Linked DNA regions of Homo sapiens: region 1 is linked to region 2. Evidence: promoter capture Hi-C in human tissues and cell types (Jung and others, 2019). All regions are on one chromosome and are shown on one strand. Each heading gives the region's core, a stretch centred on a gene start or on the middle of the fragment in contact. The rest is flanking DNA. Distances are from core to core; before and after follow the strand shown. Region 1 has its middle 35 kb from the start of IL1R1. Region 2 holds the start of IL1RL2 (interleukin 1 receptor like 2).

Region 1 (4,533 bases), core at 1,353-3,852, 79 kb before region 2:
AGTAGCTGGGACTATAGGCGCCTGCCACCATGCCCTGCTAACTTTTTGTATTTTTAGTAGAGATGGGTTTTCACTGTGTTAGCCAGGATGGTCTCGATCTCCTGACCTCGTGATCCACCTGCCTGGGCCTCCCAAAGTGCTGGGATTACAGGCATGAGCCACCACGCCTGGCCTGAATGTGCTATGTTATTAATGGCAGCCTCTATTGGTTTCATTTAAAGGTATAATGCATTGTATTGGCAAAACTTGTACACGCTTTCTTCAATAAGGACCTCAAAGGTAATCTTAAAAGCCTGATCATATTTTTCTCCCCCCTTCAGAAGCTTTGCCAATGTTGCACCTATAGCTATAGAGAAGACCATGCACTCTCAGAGGGGATTATAAACATTGCCTTGCATTTTTATCCTTGATCTCCATAATTTATCCTTGATCTCCATTTATCCTTGATCCTCATAATTCCTACTGATAGTGTTGTTGTGCATAAGAATGAGAAAATGGGACTGAACCTGAAAGATTAAGGAAAGAAAATAACAAAACAAAAAGGAAAACCTAATGAAGCTTATCATTCAATTCAATTTATAACTCCTTATTGCTCATGCAAAATGTGAATTTTTCGCTGTGTTGGTGAGGGTGTGAGGAGTGGATGGTGGGGAAGGATGCTTCAAAAAATACAGCTAAGGACCAACTGGTTTGGTGAGTCATGGCATTCACCCATGAGACAGCTGGAGAACAGTGACGTGTGTGTCTCTGTGTGTGTGTGTCTGTGTGTGTGTGCATTTGATGCCAGAGATTGGTGTTTACTATAAATGTGTTGATCTGTTAGGAAAAGGAAGAAGACAAAGTTGTCCAGAAAGAGCCAAGAAAACTTCTTGAGATGAATTTGATCTGCCTAATGGTAGTGATGAGTTTAAAAAGATTCTTATGGCCTTTCCTAACACTACATGCTATTGTTAATCATTGAACTGACAAACCCCGTTGAGCACAAGACTGTTAGTTTACTTAGGAGGAAAACTTGGCAGGAACGGTCAAAGAATAGCGAGGGTATACTTCTAAAATACGTCCTTGGAACATTTACACAAACAGCACAAGCTCATTGTCAAGAATAAAATTTTAAAAAATACATAGAGATAATAGTAAAAGACGAGAAGTAAAAACACACCACTGTGAGGTAAACACTGTTAACATTTTGGTAGGTGTATTTGTCTCTGAGTACATTTACATTTTGAAGAAATATATTTGTACTCTACATGCTTTTCGGTTATCTGCTTTTACCTCACAGCGATGGAGCATCTTGTTATGAGAATGAGTTTTCTTTTACAAAAGCTTTTCCATTTCATTGCATAGATAGTTTATTAAATCCTGTTGGCAGGTAGTTGATTGTTTTTCTCTTATTAACAGTACTACAACTATGTTCTTCTCTTATTAACAGTACTACAACTAACACCCTTGTAGCTAAACCTTTGCATCTCCTTGATGCAAAGGTTATCTCAACGAGTTTTCCTTGAGATAAATCCCCAGAGGTAGAATGGTAGGGGTCAAAGGGCATGGGCATTTTAAAAACTCTAGATCCCTGCTGCTAAATTAATCCTAGGAAAGTTTAATTAATTTATGTGCCCACCAGCACTGTATGAACATTTTCCAACTCTCTCATCAGCATTGGGTTTTATAATTTTTTGAAAAGTGTGCTACTCTGCATGCACACGTATGTTTATTGTGGCACTATTCACAATAGCAAAGACTTGGAACCAACCCAAATGTCCATCAGTGATAGACTGGATTAAGAAAATGTGGCACATATACACCATGGAATACTATGCAGCCATGAAAAAGGATGAGTTCATGTCCTTTGTAGGGACATGGATGAAGCTGGAAACCATCATCCTGAGCAAACTATCACAAGGACAGAAAACCAAACGCCGCATATTCTCACTCGTAGGTGGGAATTGAACAATGAGAACACTTGGACACAGGGTGGGGAACATCACACACCGGGGCCTGTTGTGGGGTGGGAGGAGGGGGGAGGGATAACATTAGGAGACATACCTAATGTAAATGACAAGTTAACAGGTGCAGCACACCAACATGGCACATGTATACATATGTAACAAACCTGCATGTTGTGCACATGTACCCTAGAACTTAAAGTATCACAATAAATAAAAGAAAAGTGTGCTACTCTGATAATAGGCAAAGGTATATTTTGTTGTCTTAATTTACCTTAAGGAAACCCTTTGCAAAATCTGCTGGTTTCCAGTTCTGCCCCTTTGGGTTCAGCCTCTCGTCTTTTTTGGTTACTCATTGCCAAAGCAGTCACCTCTTACAGTAACTTCTGCCAACCTAATTTCTGAGGACTTTGACCTCTTTTGATGTCTCTCAGAAAGTCTGCTGAGAGAGCGAGAGAACTGGATGCTTTTGCTCTGAATTTTTACCGATTGAGTAACCTGGGGTAAACCTCAGTCTTTGTGATTTTGTCTCCTTTTTAGCTATAAAATTTAGACAGAAGGCCTGTGCTAGCCACCTCACAAGATTGTACTGGGAATATAAAGAGGCAAGATAGAGGCAAGCTTTTTGAATAGAGGAAAAGCAAAAATGCAAAATGGTATTATTATTATTGTTGTTACTCTAAAGTTTAGTGATAAATCTAACCTTCTAAAATATATAGTTTCTGGAGAGCTGCATGCTGAAATTTTGTCGTCTTCTAATTCTAAACTTGGGAAGTGTGTGTGTGTGTGTATGTATGTGTGTGTGTGTGGGGGGGGGTGTGTATAACATATTTCTATGCTTCTTGGTTCTTAGATTCAGTAGCAGTGTTTAGTGTGTTACAGCAGTGCATGGATACATTTTAGATTAAAAAGATTTCCATTTTGTTGCTTATTTATTCCATTCTTGTACAGGAAAACCAGCCATCCTCCTCCTATTGCATTCTCATCATCCATGGGCTTTGCTCAGCTCCCCAGTGGACTGAGAGCTCCTCAAAGACGGGGTCCGGTTTCATGTGTATACCTCTCTCCAGGGCCTGCTTTGGGGTCTGACACCCAGAGGGCGGATCAATCAATGTTTCTCAAATGAGTCAATGTAAGGGAGGTAGAAAAATATTTACCCAGTTCTGTGGAGAAAAGAATATTCCAAAAAGGCACCCCAGAAGATTAAAAAAAAACCTAAATGGAGCTTTTCTAGGGGCAACTGGTTATTTATTTCGTTTAGTTTGGGTGAGTCTCAGTTTCTATTGAGTAAATATTTAAAGCTCTGAAAGGATATTAAACAAATGAATGCAAGCCAAGGATAGGACCAGGAAAATGGAGAACCCTGTCTTTATAGGTGCAAGTGTCATGGATTTGGCATGAATATCAAAAACTTTAAGGAGGCATCGATTTTCACTCTGACTCCCAGCTCAGTGCTGGGCTGCAAAAATCAGGACCAAACTGACATTTAGTAATGGTTTGAACTTGGTACTGAATAATAATAATAATAATAATAATAATAATAATAATAATAATAAAAGCTAATATGTAATACAGCACTTGCTAGGTAGGAGACCTGGTTTTAGGTACCGCTCATATAAAATAATCAGTACTATTATTTTATTTTGCAGATTAAGAAACGGAAGCACAGAGAGTGATTTGCTAGGGTTATACCAGTAGTTATTGCAGAGCTGGAATTATGACGCAGACAGGCTCACTCTGGAGCCTGTGGGTCAGTGAGGGTAGGTCGGACTGAACTTTGGAGACAATGTCTCATGGTTTTAGGCCACTGGTGATGTTTGTGCTGTTTATTTGGGTATATGACTACCATTTATTGAGTCACCTACTAAAGGAACATGCACTCTTCTGGGTTCTTTAAGTATAATATCTTGAATCTTTCTCGCAACCTTGAAACATTATTCCAACTCTAGGTCCAGACAAGCTGAGACCCTGAGAAGTTCAGTAAGTTTCCCAAAGCTGCAGGCTAGTGAGGAGAGATCCATCAGCCTGCACCAAGTCTGTCTGCCTTCTGAGTCCATGTGCCACACTGGCCTGGACAACTGAGTGCTGATGTATTTGGTTCTTCCATCCAAAGGTGCCAAGAGTCCAGTTCTACTGCATTTGGAGGTGTTGAACCTGGAAAACTCAGCCACAACAACCCCTCAACTTGGGGATCAGGCAGGGCTCAGCCTCAGCTTCTCTGAACCCACATGGGCCAATGTGAAATGGATTTGATTTTTCAGACCAGATCCTCCCTGGCAGGACCATCCAATTTATCACACCAACCTAGACTCGATGGGCGTTTAAAATATTGAGAGATATTTCCTTATATTTCCTCTCTATTGACCCCCCAAATCTGCACCAAGGAACTCCAGCGAATGAGATGGAGTATGGTGAGTGCTAGCTTGGGGGCCAAGGGCGGCTTCGTTTCTCCTGGGCGACTTATCTCCCTTTTCTTTGTTTAGTGTTTCCAGTTATAACATGAGGGAAAAGACTATAATTTAAAATGGAATTTTACTTTTTTTGGTTAAACTTTTCCATATGATTTTGAAACTCTTTAAATTTTTTTGAG
Region 2 (4,701 bases), core at 1,541-4,040:
TGGCTGCTTCTTCCATTTCTAGAAGTCCATTTCATCCCAACAATAGCAGTCTGCTACAGAAATGCTGCTATATATTCCCAAGCCTCATAGAGGGGAAATATGAGAACTTAAGGGCCTTAAAGGTATAAAGATCTTGGTGGAGCCCCAAACACCCACCCCAGCCTAATACTGGGTTTTGGAAAGTTTAATTGTTGCGTGTGAATATATTTCTGTTTCATTCTCATTGGGAAACATTATCTGTGGGATATGGCCAATGGGAAATAATCAGATATTTAGTTAGAACAAATAAAAGGTAGTATGCATCATGTAAAATATAAATTTGTATATGAAATCTTTAATCCAAATTGTTGCCCTCCTACCCTTCTGAATAGCCGTCATATCCTAGTCTGAGGGTCAAATAGACTGAAGGTAAAATTCAACCAAGCAGAATTCTGTAATGCTTTCATCACACACAGATTTGTTGCTTTTTGCCTGCTCTCAGAATGAAGTGATGAATCTCTAGAGGAAGTTGATTTACTTCATAAAAAAAAAAACCAACTGAAAATTATTTCCTATGGCCACTGACTAATGCTAGAAAACATTAAGAATATTCCCATTGAAAAAATATCTGCAAGTGGGAGAGAATTAGACAAGGAGGGGTTGGTAGGGGGATGGTGATAAGCATCTATTACATATTATACACCCTGTTATGGAGGCTTTACAACTGCCACCTCTGAAAACTGGGCATAACCTCTCAATCTAAATGTATATAAAATAAAATCACAGGATAGCTTTTACATCAGAGCAGCAAAACTGGCAAAATTTAAAAGTCTGACATTACCAAATATTGGTAAGAACATGAAGCAATGAAATTCTTTTCCTCTAAAGGACATAGCTATGGAAAAAAATTAGGGCTTTTCTAATACAATTGAGGATGTACCTACCCAATGATTCTGCAATTCCGTTCACTAAATGGCCTCTGAAATACTCGCACAAAAGGACATTACCAGAATCTTTGCAGCAGCACCGTTTATAAGAGCAAAATATAAATTTGGAAAAACTTAAATGTTCGAAGGAGATGAATACATTTAAGTTTTTTTTTTTCAAGGTAATTGAGAACCTGCAGTAAATATTATGGTTTCCTGTTATTTTTAATTGCTAAGTTTACAATACCCGGAATCAGTTCTGCCTTCAAAGCCAAGTGTTCATTTTCCACGTATCAGGAAACACATTTGGCATAGAGACCATCCCAGGAAGTTAAATTTCAGATTCTCAGAATTAGTAGCAAAGTGCAATGTCAGAAGTGTCCAGTGAGAGGCACTGCAGGGGACTGGGATGGCCTGTCTTAACTTCATACATTTTGGGGCAACAATACCCATTAAACTTGGCATATATACTAGTCCTCAGGCTAAGAAATAAGATAGGACACAAATGCATCTATTCATAAAGTGAAAATGAAAAAAGATAGCATAAAGATTTAGAAATACCTTTCAACACTGCTCATAGAAATAATTCTGAATGCAAATCATATGACTTTTATAAAAATAGTAACACTTTTGTTTTGTTTTGGATGAGGACATAAACGCTGAAGAATATACATATACAGAGGAACCTCGTTTACTGCTGATAGTAGGGGAAATAAATAATAATCTCTATTTATAGCTTAAGAAAGAGGTCCTCAAAGAGTGGGAGCCCTATGGGTCCCTGAGAGACCCTTCAAAAAGATCTGTGAAATCAAAACTATGTTCATCGTAATATTAAGACCTTATATTCCTTTTTTATTCTCATTCTCTCATTAGTGTATGGTGGACCTTTTCAGAAGCTATATGACATATTATATCATGACACTGATTGCAGAAGCAAGTATGAGAATCCAGTCATCTTCTAGTAAGCCAGACATCAAAGAGATCTGCATCTATGTAGAACAATGCCGCTTTTCTCAATAAGCCTGTTTTAGAAAGTAGAGTTATTTTTCATAAATTGTATGATATTTGCGTTAACATGTAATGGGTTTATTGTCACTTAAATAAGAAAGTAAACGTTTAAAAATTCTCCCTTTAACTTCTAATGTAGTAATATTGACAGGCATAACCTACATAGACAAAAGCACTTTGGAATCCTCAATACTTTTTAAGAGTGTAGAAATCTACAAACCACTGACCTTCAGCCTATCACAGGAAGCTTTGCTATTAGCACAATTATTGCATCTCTGCTCCTATGGTTGCTTTTGTCTCACTGTCTCTGATCTTTCAAAGACCGTTGGGAAGAGCTTGACCAGTAATCTATTGAATGGAGATTACATTTTGAACCTTTTCCTACAACTCAGTGCCCTGTGGGATGACTCTGGGGTGTCTCCTGATGGCTAGGGCAACAGGTCCCTGTTGACATCACCTTATCGGGAAGTTTTAGACAGGAACAGTCTTCAGGCTCTGAAGTACTTGAACACCATGGGATTCCTGCCTTACAGAAGTTAATGAGCACGACTCAGGCAGATTCATAATTCTCCTTAGAAGCCATTTGGGATGGCTTCCACTTTGGGGTCATTCCACATAGGCCAATGCAGAGCATGCAGTAACTGCTCAAATAGGATTTGGAAAGGAATGAATAATTCATTTAGACGTTCAACTTGGAATAGACTTAAGCAGACACTCCTGGTGATGAAGGACTTAGATGCCAGAAAATCAGGCTCAAAGACTTTCAAGCCACTTCCTAGTGTGATGTCACATTCCTTCCTACGCTCCACTGGGGAAGGCAGGTCTGCCCCGCCCACGGTGGCGGGGAAATACCTAGGCATGGAAGTGGCATGACAGGGCTCGTGTCCCTGTCATATTTTCCACTCTCCACGAGGTCCTGCGCGCTTCAATCCTGCAGGCAGGTAGACACCGGGCCGGGAGTCTGGCTGAGCCAGGCATGGGTGGGGCCCTGACAGTAGGAGAGGTGTGCAGGAAAAGACGTGGCAACAATGTGTGCCACCGCAGGCCAGGGATCAGGCCCCCCAGGCCGGCCCCCGACCGGCTAGGTGACCATGGGGGAGCCGACTCCGTCTCTGGGTCGAGGAGTGGAGCTCGCGGCTATTTTCAGCTCCAGCGGCTCCCTGCCTTCCTTTCTCCTTTCCCGCTGGCCCTTGCCAGGTAGGCCTGCCCTGGCTGCTCCCCAGTGAGCGGGTGTTTGGGGTTTCTGTTTAGACCGCCAGGCTCGGGTGGATCCCGAGGACACAGGCGCGCAGGGGAGGCTCCGTGCGCCGCGAGCGGGGTTGGGGTCCCACGTCTGGAACCCAGGCCGCAGGCTGCGCTGGGGGGCGCCCTGGCCCTCACGGGGGCTCTGGACACCAGCCTGCTTCGCTGTCAGGTGGCAGAAGCAGCTCCCACGCGGTCCCCACCGCCGCCGCCGCCTACTCCTCGCCCATCCTCCTCTGCGGCGGGGCGAGCTCCCTGCCCTGGATCCTGGTCGGGCGCCCAGACGAAGGAGACAGGGGAAGGGCAGTCTTTGGGGAAACGTGGGGCCAAAGTCGGAGGGCTCCCCAGGAAAAAGGGAAGGTCAGCGGCCTGGGCGGTTGTCTTTGAGATTCCGAGGTCGCCCACGCCGGCGCCTCGGGCCCGCCCTACTGCGTCCTCCCCTCCCACCCTCTTCTCCCTTCCTTGCAGCCCGGTTTGGGGATGTGGTCCTTGCTGCTCTGCGGGTTGTCCATCGCCCTTCCACTGTCTGTCACAGCAGGTACGTTCCGTGTGTCCTCCGTTCCCAGAGGCTGCCCGAGTCCACAGGCTCCTGGCCTGTCATTGGGAGCCCCCGGGGATCGCGTCAGCCCGAGCGCGGCTCCTTCCCCTCCCCAGACCGCCAGGCGGAGTTCCGCGGAAGAGGAAACAGAGAACCAGCTCCACGTGCTCGGATGCTCAGCCCTGAATGTCGCCTTTGAGCTTGGAGGTGACTTCGGGGAGGGGAAGGAGTTAGGCAAATTCCAAGTGAAGACTTGAGTAACAATGCTCAAATGGAATTACTACAGGCTATTTTATAAGATAAAGCGTTATTTTATGACACAAGGTGAAAGCAAGGAAACCGTCAATAGAACAAATTTCTTCTAAGAAATTTGGTATGGCCGGGCGCAGTGGCTCATGCCTGTAATCCCAGTACTTTGGGAGGCCAAGGCGGGCGGATCACGAGGTCAGGAGATCTAGACCATCCTGGCTAACACGGTGAAACCCCGTCTCTACTAAAAATACATTAAAAAAATTAGCCGGGCGCGGTGGCGGGCGCCTGTAGTCCCAGCTACTCAAGAGGCTGAGGCAGGAGAATGGCGTGAACTCGGGAGGCGGAGCTTGCAGTGAGCCGAGATTGAGCCTCTGCACTCCAGCCTGGGCGACAGAGAGAGACTCCGTCTCAAAAAAAAAAAAAAAAGGAAATTTGGTAGAAATGAACTTTAAAAGTGAACCAAATTTTTTTTCTTAAACAATCGTTTTGGGATGAAATACCTTTTACTCAAGACAGAGTAAAATAACTGGGTGGCAGAGCAGAAACAGAAAAGACAAGAAGGGTTGATTTACTCTGTAGGTGAGTACAGAGTAAAGAACTCTGTGGATGAAAAGAACTAAGGGTCGTAGAATAGAAGGGAAAGAGGGAAATCACTCCCGATGGGGAGGTTTGTGAGGAGGGAACGGAGTAAATTCTGTTTTATGGATACATTTAAAGAACTTGGAATTATACTTTATAATCAGCAGGCTATTTTTA

The links. Contacts are between HindIII fragments. The study calls those that stand out against the background at their distance.
Region 1: a contact is called between a fragment that was not itself captured here and the fragment with the promoter of IL1RL2 in region 2, in 6 of the 25 tissues and cell types used here (H1 embryonic stem cells, IMR-90 fibroblasts, aorta and 3 more).

The regions. Positions count from the first base shown.
Region 1 is chr2:102,105,491-102,110,023 of GRCh38, forward strand. It overlaps a transcript of IL1R1 not described here. Among named protein-coding and RNA genes, the nearest start is that of IL1R1, 35 kb to the right of the region's middle. The HindIII fragment of the contact is 6,577 bases long and covers 1-4,533 here.
Region 2 is chr2:102,184,233-102,188,933 of GRCh38, forward strand. IL1RL2 (interleukin 1 receptor like 2) reads left to right here and starts at 2,791. Exons shown (of 12, transcript NM_003854.4): 1 at 2,791-2,854; 2 at 3,624-3,693. The coding sequence starts at 3,636. RefSeq lists an enhancer at 2,447-2,976. The HindIII fragment of the contact is 7,879 bases long and covers 29-4,701 here.